Linked DNA regions of Homo sapiens: region 1 is linked to region 2. The links are contacts of gene promoters, found by promoter capture Hi-C in human tissues and cell types (Jung and others, 2019). All regions are on one chromosome and are shown on one strand. The core of a region is centred on a gene start or on the middle of the fragment in contact, and the rest is flanking DNA. Distances in the headings are between cores, read along the strand shown.

What was found. Contacts are between HindIII fragments. The study calls those that stand out against the background at their distance.
Region 1: a fragment that was not itself captured here is called in contact with the fragment with the promoter of BRF2 in region 2 in 1 of the 25 tissues and cell types used here (spleen).

The regions. Positions count from the first base shown.
Region 1 is chr8:38,079,353-38,082,052 of GRCh38, forward strand. No RefSeq gene overlaps it. Among named protein-coding and RNA genes, the nearest start is that of ASH2L, 25 kb to the right of the region's middle. The HindIII fragment of the contact is 3,188 bases long and covers 1-2,700 here.
Region 2 is chr8:37,848,456-37,851,177 of GRCh38, forward strand. BRF2 (BRF2 general transcription factor IIIB subunit) reads right to left here and starts at 1,406. Exons shown (of 4, transcript NM_018310.4): 1 at 1,175-1,406; 2 at 141-200. The coding sequence starts at 1,328. RefSeq lists enhancers at 1,082-1,221, 1,262-1,611. The HindIII fragment of the contact is 10,485 bases long and covers 1-2,722 here.

The DNA of each region.
Region 1 (2,700 bases), core at 7-2,506, 230 kb after region 2:
AGTGGATTTATTTATTTATTTATTTATTTATTTTTTGAGAGGGAGTTTCGCTCTTGTTACCCAGGCTGGAGTGCAATGGCGTGATCTCAGTTCACCACAACCTCCACCTCCCAGGTTCAAGCAATTCTCCTGCCTCAGCCTCCTGAGTAGCTGGGACTACAGACACGCACCACCATGCCTGGCTAATTTTGTATTTTTAGTAGAGACAGGATTTCTCCATGTTGGTCAGGCTGGTCTCGAACTCCCAACCTCAGGTGATCTGCCTGTCTCAGCCTCCCAAAGTGCTAGGATTACAAGCGTGAGCCACCATGCCCAGCCACAAGTGGACTTTTTTTTGTTTTTTGAAACAGAGTTTTGCTCTTGTCGCCCAGGCTAGAGTGCAATGGCTCAATCTCGGCTCACTGCAACCTCTTTCTCCTGGGTTCAAGCGATTCTCCTGCCTCAACCTCCCGAGTAGCTGAGATTACAGGTGCCCACCACAACACCTGGCTAATTTTTGAATTTTTGGTAAAGATGGGGTTTCACCATGTTGGCCAGGCTGGTCTTGAACTCCTGACCTCAGGTGATCCACCCACCTCAGCCTCCCAAAGTGCTGGGATTACAGGTGTGAGCCACCGTGCTGGTCCACAAGTGGATTTTTAAAGGGAAAGAAGAGGCAGTTCCTGAGTTGTTTACCAAGAATTTCCATCAAAATAACATAAGCTGCTGATTGGCTATATACATTGTTAAGCTATAGGGTGTGGGTTATAGTGGCTGTTGCAGCACTGTTAGGTTAATTTATGGCTACTTTTAGCAATAGCAAGCAATTTCAAGAGATGAACACATAGCTCAAAATGGGGTGGGGGAAAGTAGGACGTGATTGCTATTTCATTTTAATGCCTCTTTGGGCCTGATAATTTAAAAGGACTCCCATGCATCAGATAAAACTTATTTTCTTACCTGGTACGGGGATGGGACATAACTTGTTTTCATACAAGTTCTCTCCCTTGGGTATTGAAGGCCCTGTGGTCAGTACAGGCTGGGAGCAGTGGCTCACGACTGTAATCCAAGCACTTCGGCAGGCCAAGGCAGGAGGATCGCTTGAGTCCATGAGTTCAAGACCAACCTGGGCAACATAGTAAATCCTGTCTCTACAAAAATTTTAAAATTAGCCAAGTGCGATGGCACACACCTGTAGTCCCAGCTACTTAGGAGGCTGAGTGGCGTGAACACATCTCACTGCAACCTTGACCTCCTGGGCTCAAACAATCCTCCTGCCTTGGCCTCCTGAATAACTAAGGCTACAGGCATGCACCATCACACTCGGCTAATTTTTTTTCTTTTTTTTTTGAGACAGAGTCTCACTCTGTCACCAAGGCTGGAGTGCAGTGGTGTGATCTCAGCTCACTGCAACCTCCACCTCCCGGGTTCAAGCAATTCCCCTGCCTCAGCCTCCTGAGTAGCTGGGATTACAGGCGCCCGCCACCATGACCGGCTAATTTTTGTATTTTTAGCAGAGACGGGGTTTCACCATGTTGTCTAGGCTGGTCTTGAACTCCTGACCTCAAGTGATCCACCTGCCTTGGCCTCCCAAAGTGCTGGGATTACAGGCGTGAACCATCACGCCCAGTCCAGCTAATTTTTTAAATTTTTTGTAGAGTCGGGGTCTCACTATGTTGCCCAGGCTGGTCTCCAACCCATGGGCCCAAGTGATCCTCCTAACTTGGCCTCCCAAAGTGCTGAGAGACAAAGCAGGGACCGCACCCTCCCTCTCCACTCCCCCACCTACTTGTTAGAGGCCTGCCAAGTCCCTCCCAAGCGTGGAAATAAAGGAAAATCTTGAGTTCCCTCAAAGAAAATTCCAAGCACCTAGCTAGCCTTGATAAATAAACGAGCAACGTGATAAGCAAGAATGTAATAGTAGCCTAAAACAACAGCAAAGGAAGCTAGAGCCAGGAAATGTTTGGTTCCCTATGTAAACTGAAGATAACATCTTAGCGCGTGTCCCTGAACTGTTTTTCAGAGACTGGACCCCCACCCAATGGATCTGCTGGCACACAGACCTCAGATAAGGAGAAACTGAGGACTGAACTCTGACAGCTGTCCTTTATTCTAAAGTTCTTCCTGAGGGGCCTAGAGCAAGTCACAGTCACAACATTGAGCTAACATTCTTTTCTTCTGACCCCAAATTTTTCTCCCTTAAACAATTGCAAATCAGAAAATCTTTGAATTTACCTGTTGCTTGTAACACCCCTACATTCCCCCGAACCCTCCTCGCCTTCAAGATACCCGACTCTTTTAAGCCAAAACCAATGTGTAAGCTTCATGTACTGACTTATGACTTTGCCTGTAACTTCTGCTTTCCCGAATTTTACCCCTGCCTTTAAGAACCCTTACCTGCAAGCTACTGGGGAAGTCAGGATTTGAGAGCGAGCTACCTGGTCCTTCCTGCTTGGTGCACTGCAAATAAATGTCTTCCTTTCTGCTGTTGCGGGACAATCAGAGACGGGAAAGACGAACAGAGTTCAGGAAAGCCTTTATTAAGGTGATCACCTGGCTCAGTAGGACTAGCATCCAGGAAAGTCTGAGCCTCGGCAAAGAAAGCAGCCACCTTTTAAGCAGTCAGTGGCTGAGAGCTACCTGGTGCAGGAAGCGTACTTACAGAAGTGAGAACAAAGGCAGTTGATCAGTCTTTTACATTTATGTATACTACATGTTCTA
Region 2 (2,722 bases), core at 156-2,655:
AGGCTGGTCTTGAACTCCTGACCTCAGGTGATCCACCTGCCTAGGCCTCCCAAAGTGCTGGGATTACAGGCGTGAGCCACAGCACCTGGCCTAGGATAGTTTTCTTTAAAGCCACTGTGTTGTAAAAGGTCAATTCTCACCTCGTTGCTGGCTGCGACTAACTTGTTCGTTTTCCCCTGTGCTTCGGGAATATGTTACCTCTGTAAGATAATAAACAACAAATAGTGTGCTTAGCCTTTATTCATCAGACCCCTGCCCTCCCACCACACAAAACCAGGACGCAAAATTCAAATCATTGAGCATCTGCTGCTGCACAGTTAAAGGCCCCATCTGGTTTTCTATGTCTACAAGAGGTTCCGAATACACAGAGACTGGGAAAGGTTAGGACTGCATTAAAGCAGCTCCAAGTGTTCCAAATTTCCAGTCATCCTTCCAGTACATTCCATACAGGCAATTTTCCTAGCAGCAGATTTTGTTGTTGTTTGTTTAAGGAGTTTCCCTCTATAGTCCAGGCTGGAGCACAGTGGTGCGATCACAGCTCACGGCAGCCTTCAACTTCCAGGCTCAAGCAATCCTCCTACCTCAGATTCCTGGGTAGCTGGGATTACAGGTGTATGCCACCATACCTGGCTAATTAAAAAAAAATTTTTTTAGGCACTTGTCTCGTTACGTTACCAAGGCTGGTCTCGAGATCCTGGGCTCAAGCAATCCTCTCGGCTCTGCCTCCCAAAGCACTGGGATTACAGGCGTAAGCCACCCCACCCAGACAATGGCTGCAGATTTTGAGGGCTGCACTGGTCAGAAACTTGGAAAGCAAAGAAAAGTGATGTTTTGCCAGTTTGTGCTTAAAACTATTTCAGGGTAATAATACCTGCTATAATCGTATCGGCAATCCTTCCACAATGACCAGACATGGCAAGATGAGTGGAACTTTTGTTTCTGTCTCACTTATTCAATATTTATTACACGCACCATCTATGCCCGATACTAAGTGCTGGGAAAACACAGATGAATGGCAGCCCCCATCTCCTTCAGCTCCCTCGCTCACTTTAGGTCATTTTCTCTCAAATTAAGTGTGTGCGTTACAGTTAGGAGTATGGGGGGAGCGGGGAGGCAAAAGGAATCTGATGTTAATCCCTCCACCGCCCCAGGCTGTCCCCAGGGCCACAAGTACCTCGGAGATTGCCCTCGTCGCTGAAGGTAGTGGTAAGGACCCCCTCGGTGACCACGCAGCCGCAGTCGGAGCACACCAGCTGGCTCTGCGAATAGTGCGAGTCTTCCACCAGCTCCGTGGAGCCGCAGTCCGGGCAGCGGCCTCTGCCTGGCATCTCACAACCGGCCCCAAAGCCGCGGAAGCCTTCAGAGACTCCTGGGTCTGCAACAGCAACCGTGAGGCAGCAAGAAGTAGGAGGGGACACTTCAAAGGGTTGCACCCCCGTCTTCCGGCCAGCGCGACGGAGGCATAGGCGGTTCCCTCCGCTGGGAGGCTGCGCGCCACTTCCGGTCTGTGCCTCCGCGGGCTCGGGTAGAAACGTGAGCTAGGAGAGGAGGTTCCTGGGCTGAACTGTAGCTGTCTGGTTTCCCTGCACTCTGTAGTTAGTTTTTGGGACCTAGACTGGGGTTGAATTTGGGAAAGTTTTTGCCTACATGGACACGTATAACAGACAGAAGATTGTTGTCACCCCTGAACAACCCTCCTTTTAAAGTCCTAAGGGAATCGCAGGTTGGTAATGAATGTTTAATTGGCCATAGAAGAAAGTATATTTTTTAAAGGGAGAGTAGTGGAGAGAGAGCGGGAGCAGGAAACTGTGTTCTGCTTTCCAGAGCTGCTTCCTAAAGCAGATTCCTTCCTCTCTTTACCTCCTGTTTTTCTCAACTGTAAAATGAGGAAGTTGAAAAAAAAATCCAGAGATGCAAACCCAAACGCTTTTGGAGGCCAGGCAGGAATGTCTAAAGGAGTTTGGAGTGAAAGAATATGGAGTGATGGAGACCTGGAGCGGCGCAAGCACGCAGATTCAGATGTTTTTTAAAAAACCTTGAGCTATCTGGGCGTGGTGGCTCACGCCTGTAATCCCAGCACTTTGGAAGGCCGAGGCAGGTGGATCACCTGAGCTCGGGAGTTTGAGACCAGCCTGGGCAACATGGTGAAATCCCGTCTCTACTAAAAATACACAAAAATTAGCTGGGCGTGGTGGTGCACGTCTCTAATCCCAGCTACTCAGGAGGCTGAGGCAGGAGAATCGCTTGAACCCAGGAGGCGCAGGAGGCGCAGTGAGCCAAGATCGCGCCACTGCACTCCAGCCTGGGTGGCAGAGCGAGACTCCATCTCAAACAAAATAAAACATACCTTTAAGAAGTGTCACTCCCTTCTTTTCCACACCCAGTTTTTACACGTGATATCCAAACCTAAAGACACCATCCCTTCCCTAAGAGACTGCTTTCTCAGAGTGTGAGAATCACTACTCCTTTTCAGAGACATCCCGTCCATTCCCATGGGGATCGCTCACATTGGAGGGCCAAGAGACACAATAATACCCAACGGTCCTTTCTCTTCAATTTGAATTACTTTAGTATCATAACAGAAGGGGGCTTCAGCACATTAATCGTGGGTGGGATCCGGCAGTCCAAGCCCCCCCGCCTTTTCTAGACCTCCCCACTAGCGTGAGATACAGGATGAGAGCTTATTTCTGGCTGTCTGACAGTTAAATATTAAGATACATTT